Regions from separate parts of the Homo sapiens genome. Here regions 2 and 3 are each linked to region 1. The links are contacts of gene promoters, found by promoter capture Hi-C in human tissues and cell types (Jung and others, 2019). All regions are on one chromosome and are shown on one strand. The core of a region is centred on a gene start or on the middle of the fragment in contact, and the rest is flanking DNA. Distances in the headings are between cores, read along the strand shown.

Region 1 (2,793 bases), core at 71-2,570:
TAGCCATTCTTGGGTGGGTGAGGGCAGTGAAGAGCTATTCTTGACATGGAATGACAAGACCTAGTGTGCCCGAGGTGAAGGCCTGAGCGTCCAGGGGAGCATGAGCCTGTCTTCTATGCCCTGCTGTGCTATGGCAGTGTTTCAGTGTGCTCTGGAGGAAAACAGCAGAGAAGCCGAGTGCTCCAAAGTGGGCAGAAATGAGACAGGCATAATGTGCTAGGCTAATGGTGACTCTTGGAATTTTGTCATTAGCTACAAAGAGGGCAGTGACATGATTTACACACACACACGGGGTGGGGTATCTGAAATATTAGGCAGCTAGTATGGCAGGGGCACCGTCTAATCAGCATGGATGCTGGCCAGGAGAGGACATGTGTATGTGCTGGCTGGAAACAGTCCTGCTCATAGGTCACGATCTTAATGATTAAATAACAAGGCAAGAAATCCGAGAGGGCAGTGCCTGGGAGCACCCTGTTTGCTCTGTGGCCAGAACGCAGCACACTGAAGTATTGCCCATCAGGGTAAGAGGTGCTCGTGATGGTTTGGGCAAATACAAATATTAATCCAGAGTATTTGAGTCTACATGAAAATACTGAAAAGTGAGGGAAGACCCAACCGTTTCCAAGAAATACAAATTGGAACTGGCGATAACTTAAAGAACATAATCAGAGAGGCAGAGGGCATTGGGTTTTACTAAAATATGAAGACATACGTCCTGTCTCCACGTCAGCAACTGCCCAAAGTACACGCGTTCCAGCGAAAAGAGCGGGTGGGGTGGGGAGGCTCAGGGCCAGCCAGAGCTTCGGTGCTTGCACGCCCAGGCCTCCGGGTGACGACTGCTTCCAATTCCGCGCCCTTTAAACCCCATGTTGTTAAAAAAAAAAAAAAAGAAAGAAAACCTATTTCTCTAAAAGTCACGATTCGAGCCCCACCTGAGGACGCAGCGATCCAGCGCCAACTCATTATCTGAGATAAAGGAGTGATTTTACCAGAAGCGCCTATGCAAGACGCAGGGCCCCGCGCGGGCTGCTCCCACCTCTTTCTCTCCTTGCAGGCTACCGAGACCCTGGCTGGGGCGGCCGGCGGCCCCTCCGGCCCATCCGTCGGAAATGATGAGTGGCTCCAGTGGCCGGGGTCCGCAGGACCTACCCCAGCGGGCATGGCGGGAGCCCCGCAGCCCCACACAGCCGCGCTCTGAGCCGCTGACCCCGCGTCTCTCGTGAGGGACCAATCAGCTGCCAGCTAAGGTCACATACCTAGAAGGCCAATTTTGATTGGCTGGGCGCGGGCTAGTCAGCGGGACGGGCGGGCGCGCGGGCGTTGTTGGGCTCCTCTGAGCGGTTGAGGTTGGGGCTGGGGTTGAGCTCGGGTTGGGTTCCTCCTGGGGCAGGAGGGAAAGGCGGGAGCCAGGGCGTCAGGGCCTGCGGACGATGTGTGTGTGAAAGGGCGCGTCAGCCATAAGAAGCCATATGCGTGCGAGCCGGTCCCCACCGTCCCCGCGGCGTTGTCACCATCATCATGAGGCCACTGGAGCAGCCTCAGGCGCTGCTGCCGGGGGGCCGGGCGCGGGGTGCGTCGGGCTCTGCAGGTTGGCACTCACACCCAGCGCGCAGGATGGCAGGCAAGTGAGTCCTGAATCCTGCCCGCGGCTACCCGACACCTCGCCTGTGAGTTCCCGGCCCGGCATTGCTCCATGACCTATGCACAGGCAGAACTCTTGACCGCCACCCACAGGAACCTCACTTACATTGGCTTAACAAAAACGCAACTGATGGTTCCACATAACTGAAAATGTCAGAAGTAGGCCTTCAGGCATGGATGTATCCAGGTACACATTGACCATGGTCCTGGAAGGTTTCTCTCCATCTCTCAGCTTCCTTCCTTTTTGCTGGCTTCCCTTGTGGAGGCAAGATGATCACCAGGACCTCCTGAGGTTTACATGTTATCAGATTATCAACCTCAACAAAAAGGAGATTCTTTTTTTTCCCAGCTTTCCAGGCTGGGCAGTGGTGAGTTTGGCCCACCTGAACTACAAGGACTGAGATGGCTGTGGCCCCCCCCCTCCCCACCAGGAATATAGCAGTGCTGTCATTACCAGAAGGGGCCTCGGATGCTGTGGAGGGCAGTGCCCCATCCTCTGTTTTCAAGCATTATCTGGGAGAGTTGATGCGTGAACCTATTACTCTCACAAAAATAGCAATAATAATAATGGTTATTATGACAATGAAACCCAAAAACACTTATATCGCTCTTACGGTTTCCACATACAAAGCACTTTGACCCACTACTGTCAGGGAAGCAGGGCTTTGCACCCACTGGAGACGCTTCATCCAGCCAACATTCAAGCAGTTTGTTGGGGAGTGGAACAGGGAAGAGCCACACAGGCTGTGTAACCCCAAGTGCTTTGTCATCCCAGAGACAAAGCACCCGGGTTTTTATAGTGGAAGGAGGTTCATTAATGGACAGTTTGACGATGTTTTTTCTTCAGTATTTCAGTAAGTTGAGGGTGTCTGACAGATCATCCTAGGTGATGTGATTGGCAGCTACATGTCTTGGAAAGTTCTCAGCAGGTTGGAATGCTCCTGTCTTTTCTGATGCTCCAAGCACAAGTGTAGCTGGAGTCAGCTTGAAGCTGGTTGGCTTGGGAATGCAGGATTCCATGACAGCCAGCCCCCAGGAGCCCCTAGACATTCACGCATGAGCTAGCACACGCCTGCTTCTGATGTCACCCTCTCACTCTTCTTGGGCTCAGAGGATCCCCCCATCCCCACCACCCGTGGGCTTTATTATTAA
Region 2 (2,700 bases), core at 111-2,610, 640 kb after region 1:
GCCAGCAGAACAGGAGACAGTGCTGGCAGTGACAGAAATAGGCTGGGTGCATTTCAGCAGACAGGGACTCTCTGCTGAAGGAGGAGGAAACTGGGGAGCTCCCACCTTGCTGGGAAGGCTGTGGAACAAAACTTGGCAAAAGGCAGAGACAAAAGAGACCAGACAGGAGGCAGAACAGGAGGAAAGTCTTGTTGAGCACAGTCTGGGCAGACATGCTTTGTGCAGAGGGCCTCCTCATGGTGTGGGGATGGCGGGGAGAGGGGAGGGGGGCAGGGGGTGAGCGCCAGTGATCACAGTTGTCCCTGTACTCACTCCATTCCTGATATGGTTTGGCTGACCATATCAAGATGGTCAAATCCCATCTTGAATTCCCATGTGTCGTGGGGGGGACCCGGTGGGAGGCAACTGAATGATGGAGGCAGGTCTTTCCCCTGCTGTTCTCGTGATAACAATTAAGTCTAATGAGACCTGATGACTGATTATAAAGGGGAGTTTCCCTACACAACCCTCTCTCTTTGCCTGCTGCCACCCACCTAAGATGTGACTTGCTCCTCCTTGCCTTCCGCCATGATTGTGGGGCCTCCCCAGCCATGTGGAACTGTAAGTCCAATAAACCTCTTTTTTTTTTTTTTTTTTTTTGTAAATTTCCCAACCTTGGGTATGTCTTCATCAGCAGTGTGAAAACAAACTAATAGGGTTCCTTTTGCCTTTGGGAAAGAGAGTCTTTTAGCTATTTGGGCACAAGGGTGTGGTATCCAATTGCTTCTGCCCAAATATTACATGGGGCCTACATATACAAATAAAAATATTTGTAGTTTACCTAAAATTTAAATTTAACTGGGCATCCTGGTTTTTGTTTTGTTTTGTTTGTTTCTGATTTTTCTCTCTAAATCTGGGAACCTTAGGTGATATGTCAGGTTGGATTAGTTGTCTCCAAAATGAAAGAGCCCCATGCCCTCACCCCAGTTCCCTCCAAGCAGTGGCCAAAGGTCCTGTTTGGAGGAAACCTTCTGGGTTCAGTGATATAAGGGTGTGTGCTGGCAGAGAAAGTCCAGCCAGCAACTCACCCCATGGCCACAAGAGCAAAGGCTCCCAGTAAGAAGCCATATCCTGAGAATATGGCTGGTCCAGGCCCCTCTGGGGAAGTTACCAAAGACTGAGCTCTCCTCTCCTTGGCCAGGTTATGGCAGGAAGAGGTGAGCTTCTGACCAGGAGGCCATGCAGGAACACTCTGCCCTACCACTCTGTGCTTTTCTGGCAGAGCTTCCACCATGACTGTGTTTGCCAGCAGGAATTGCACGGCCCACCCAGAAAACCACCGTGCACCCCTCCAACGAGCAGCCCAGCCCCACACAGTCCTAGGAGAGGGGCCGCATACAGGCCTTGGGCACATGTCACCAGGAGAGGATGGCGTTTCCTTCTTGCAGAAGGCTGCTGGCCAGTGACTCATGCCTATAAGACAGTGACCAACAAGCCCTCAATTTGCAGACCTCACTTTAGTCCACAGAAGTCTATAAAAACCAGACCCGACCTGCACAGAACACATTTTGAGCCACCTTGTCTGGGAAAAGCCAAGAAATGGGCTGATTCATGCCCTTTGACCACCTCTCTCTCTCCTTGTCCAACAGGCTCTGATTCACACAGACATGTCAGTGCATGACACAGGAGGAAGAGCCCTCAGCAGCCTGGAAACACAAGCTCCTCTCTAGCCATGGCAGGCCTCTGAGAGAGAGGGAGCTGATGAAAATAGGTCTCTCACAATTTATTCACTCATCAATTATTTCTAAGCTCCTACTCTGTGACAGGAGCTGCTCTAAGTACGGGGAATGCAAGAGTGAACAAAACAAATACAAACTCCTGTTCTTATAGACAAGAAACCCTCACTCTTATAGTTAAGAAACCTGGCTCTTATAGACCAGAAACCCTCGCTCTTATAGACCAGAAACCCTCACTCTATAGACAAGAAACCCTCGCTCTATAGACAAGAAACCCTCGCTCTTACAGACCAGAAAACCTTGCTCTTATAGACCAGAAACACTTGCTCTTATAGACCAGAAACCCTCACTCTTATAGACCAGAAACACTCGCTCTTATAGACCAGAAACCCTCGCTCTATAGACAAGAAACCCTTGCTCTTACAGACCAGAAAACCTCGCTCTTATAGACCAGAAACCCTTGCTCTTAAAGACCAGAAACCCGCGGTCTTATAGACCAGAAACCCTTGCTCTTATAGACCAGAAACCCGCGGTCTTATAGACCAGAAACCCTCACACTTATAGACCAGAAACCCTGGCTCTTATAGACCAGAAACCCTCGCTCTTATAGACCAGAAACCCTCGCTCTTATAGACCAGAAACTCTTGCTCTTATAGACAAGAAACTCTTCTGAATGGCTCCTCTGTGCCAAAAACTGCTTGATGACTAGATCCAGGGTCAAATAAGACCAAGGTCCCTGCCTGCCCTGCATTTATTCATTCATTCACTCATTCATTTTTTCACTCACTCTTTGACTGTTTCTAATCATCTACTGTATGCCAGCAAGTTGCTAGATGGTGCAAAAAAACAAAAAGTAAGATAGACATTAACAGTCTCTGATCAGGGAAAGAGGTGTGTTAAAAAAAAAACTCTGAACAGCAAGATAAATTCCTTAATAGAAGGAAGTATAAAGTGCTTTTAAAATGCATGAGAGAAGAGGCAAACA
Region 3 (2,725 bases), core at 33-2,532, 660 kb after region 1:
GCCTGCCTGTCTAAATGATTCAGATCCGCTCTGCAACTCTATGCAGGAGAAACACATTTTCCTTTTCTGGTGGATCAGACAACAGCAGGACTTCTGGATTATGTCTTCTGCATAGGTTGCAGCAGGGAAACATAGCATTACGCGTGTAGACAGGGCAGGTTTAATGCTAGGCAACGTTCTTAAGGGAGATCAGAAAAGCAACTAGCATGCCAGGTCTACTGTCCCGGCCCCCAAGGCTCAGCACAGATATTTGGAAAACCAGGAGTTGAGCATTTGACTGGAAAATAAAAACAACATAGACTCGTGCATTTGATCAGTGAACTTGGAGCGCACACCATGGATTAGGCACAGCTGGGCACCGAGGAGACATCACCTGGCTTATAAGTCATCTGTGCCCTCTGGGGACTGACAGTCCAGCTGGGAATGAGGATCAGGAGGTCAGAAATTAAGTAAAGAGCAAAGAAGAATGCAACATGAGTAAACGCAAAAATAAAAAATAAAAACAAACAAAACAAGTTGGCCCTGACCATCAGGCAGTATGGTATGGAGAAGACCACGGGCTTGTGTCTATCAGTCAGACCTGCTTTGAGTCTTGGCTCCACCATAAACCAGATGAGTTAAGTTTCATACCCTCTCTAAACGGTCGCCTCAGCTATACAACAGGCTCAATGATATTCACCCCACAAGATTGCTATAAGAAGGAAATGGTATGACCTTGGGGCAAGAAGAGGTACCATTGTCCCCACTGTCCACAGATGGTGACATTTGTTCAGGACAACCTGGCCATTAAGGAGGAGAACTCTATGAGAACAAGGTCTGCGTCCCTAGATGGCATTCATACAGGTACTCACGATGCTAAGAGGTATTTCATGAAATAAAGAGTTTGTGGTCAAATAAGTTTGGAAGATGCTAGGGTGAACAAGCTTCTTTACTATAGGACTTCAAGTGTCTTTAACTTACTGTCATATGTTCAAAATATTCATGAGTCAAGAGGTGCTTCGTAAGCAAGAACCATTTCACAAATCTGGCTTACTACTGCACAGAAACATGTTCAGTGAAGGGCCGAGCTGTGTGCCTGCCAAGGCCTGGCACTCCCCTCCCAGCCTCCTTCTATGCCAGGTGTCCTCTTGGAGTCAGGAAATGGTCTTAGCCAACTTCAGAATTTCTCCGTGCTTCATGTGGTGTTTGGTTATTTTAGGTGATCGATTAATCAACAGAGGAATGCTGAAAAGAGTTAAAGAGTTAAGCAGTAAACCACTTAGGCACAGAGGTTTATGGGTGCATAGAGGCAGAACTGGAATAGAATGGGTGCTTGACAAGCAACGATTCCATTCCTTCTTGCACAGGACAGATCCCTACCCCCTGGAGTCAGGTGAGAAAAGAGGCTTAGGGCGGTGGCCGCCCCAAGCCACCTAGCTGAGTCTGCAGGGCAGGTGGCATGCACGAGCTGCCGGATGTAGCACCTGGCGTCCTGTGTGGACCTTCCAAGCAGGAAGAATGTGACTGCTCCTCTGCCTTTCAAATCTTGCACAAAATGTGTCTTGTGGACCACACTAACCTGTAATTATACAGGAGAGGGGACTTGGGGGACATGGTTGCAGCTTAGCTCAAGTGATGCGGGAAGAAGCCCTACTGGCCTTCTGGAAGTTCTTCAGGCACATGGGCAGGACACTACCACCCTCCCCAAGCTGTGTACTTTCGTGTGAATCAGAAAATAGTGCCCTGTCTGGTGGAAGTGGCATGGCAAGCAGCAGGGGGGTTGGAGTCTAGCTTCTGCCTTCACCAGGCATCCTAGGATGGTGCACAGGCTGTTCAGCATACGTGTAGCCCAGAATTTAAGCTGTGGTCACTAGGCTCATGTGCTTCTTTAAAAGCAAATTCCTCTCAATAATCCACCAGTCGTGACATACAAGTAAGAACTGACAGTCCAGCAAAAGAGCCAGAGATTATGCCTGCATTGAATCTGAATTGGAAAGGAAACTCAAGTCTGTAGTTTCAGGTGTAGAAGCTTTTATACCCAACTGTCATTTCCACAGAAGAGGGAGAGCAGAATTCTTTCCAGACACAAGAAACAATACAATGCAATAGAAAAGATGCCCTTGCCACATGCCAGCCTTCAAACGGCAGGGAAGGACAAAAATACACTTCAACTACAGACTCAGGCTGAGTTCCAATGATGTCTTTAATTTAGGAAGGGAGACTCCGTGAGACTGCCTTACCCTGGCATTCATGGACCATGACCCCAGCACCCACTTCAAAAATAAAATAAGTAGATGGATGGATGGATGGATGGATGGACGGATGGATGGACTAATGAATGGATGGATGGAAGGATGGATGGACGAATGGATGGATGGATGGATGGATGGATGGATGGATGGATGGATGGATGGGTGGGTGGGTGGATGAATGGATGGATGGATGGATGGGTATATAGATGGATAGACAGACGGATGGATAGGTAGACAGACAGATAGATAGAGATTGGTATGTTGCATGCATTTTTCAGAAGATAGTGTTCACGGTTTTCATTACATTCTCAGATGAGTCGCTTACTCTGCTTTCAATGTAATAATGGCCAATAAAAGTGGGTAAACATGGCAGAATACTAGTAGAATGGCTGAACCTGCATGTGCAGGTCATAGTCGATGCCCTGGGAAGTGGCTGGATGTCCTCTGCCTCTTGGCTCCTCCTCTCCCTCGAGCTCCAGTTTCTCACTTTTCCT

The links. Contacts are between HindIII fragments. The study calls those that stand out against the background at their distance.
Region 2: a contact is called between a fragment that was not itself captured here and the fragment with the promoter of C16orf95 in region 1, in 1 of the 25 tissues and cell types used here (IMR-90 fibroblasts).
Region 3: a fragment that was not itself captured here is called in contact with the fragment with the promoter of C16orf95 in region 1 in 2 of the 25 tissues and cell types used here (IMR-90 fibroblasts and lymphoblastoid cells).

The regions. Positions count from the first base shown.
Region 1 is chr16:87,315,919-87,318,711 of GRCh38, reverse strand. C16orf95 (chromosome 16 open reading frame 95) reads left to right here and starts at 1,320. Exons shown (of 7, transcript NM_001195124.3): 1 at 1,320-1,621. The coding sequence starts at 1,470. C16orf95-DT (C16orf95 divergent transcript) reads right to left here and starts at 1,203. Exons shown (of 2, transcript NR_135180.1): 1 at 990-1,203; 2 at 669-855. RefSeq lists an enhancer at 1,293-1,742. The HindIII fragment of the contact is 14,678 bases long and covers 1-2,793 here.
Region 2 is chr16:86,675,294-86,677,993 of GRCh38, reverse strand. No RefSeq gene overlaps it. Among named protein-coding and RNA genes, the nearest start is that of LINC02189, 45 kb to the left of the region's middle. The HindIII fragment of the contact is 7,441 bases long and covers 1-2,700 here.
Region 3 is chr16:86,659,163-86,661,887 of GRCh38, reverse strand. No RefSeq gene overlaps it. Among named protein-coding and RNA genes, the nearest start is that of LINC02189, 61 kb to the left of the region's middle. The HindIII fragment of the contact is 4,543 bases long and covers 1-2,725 here.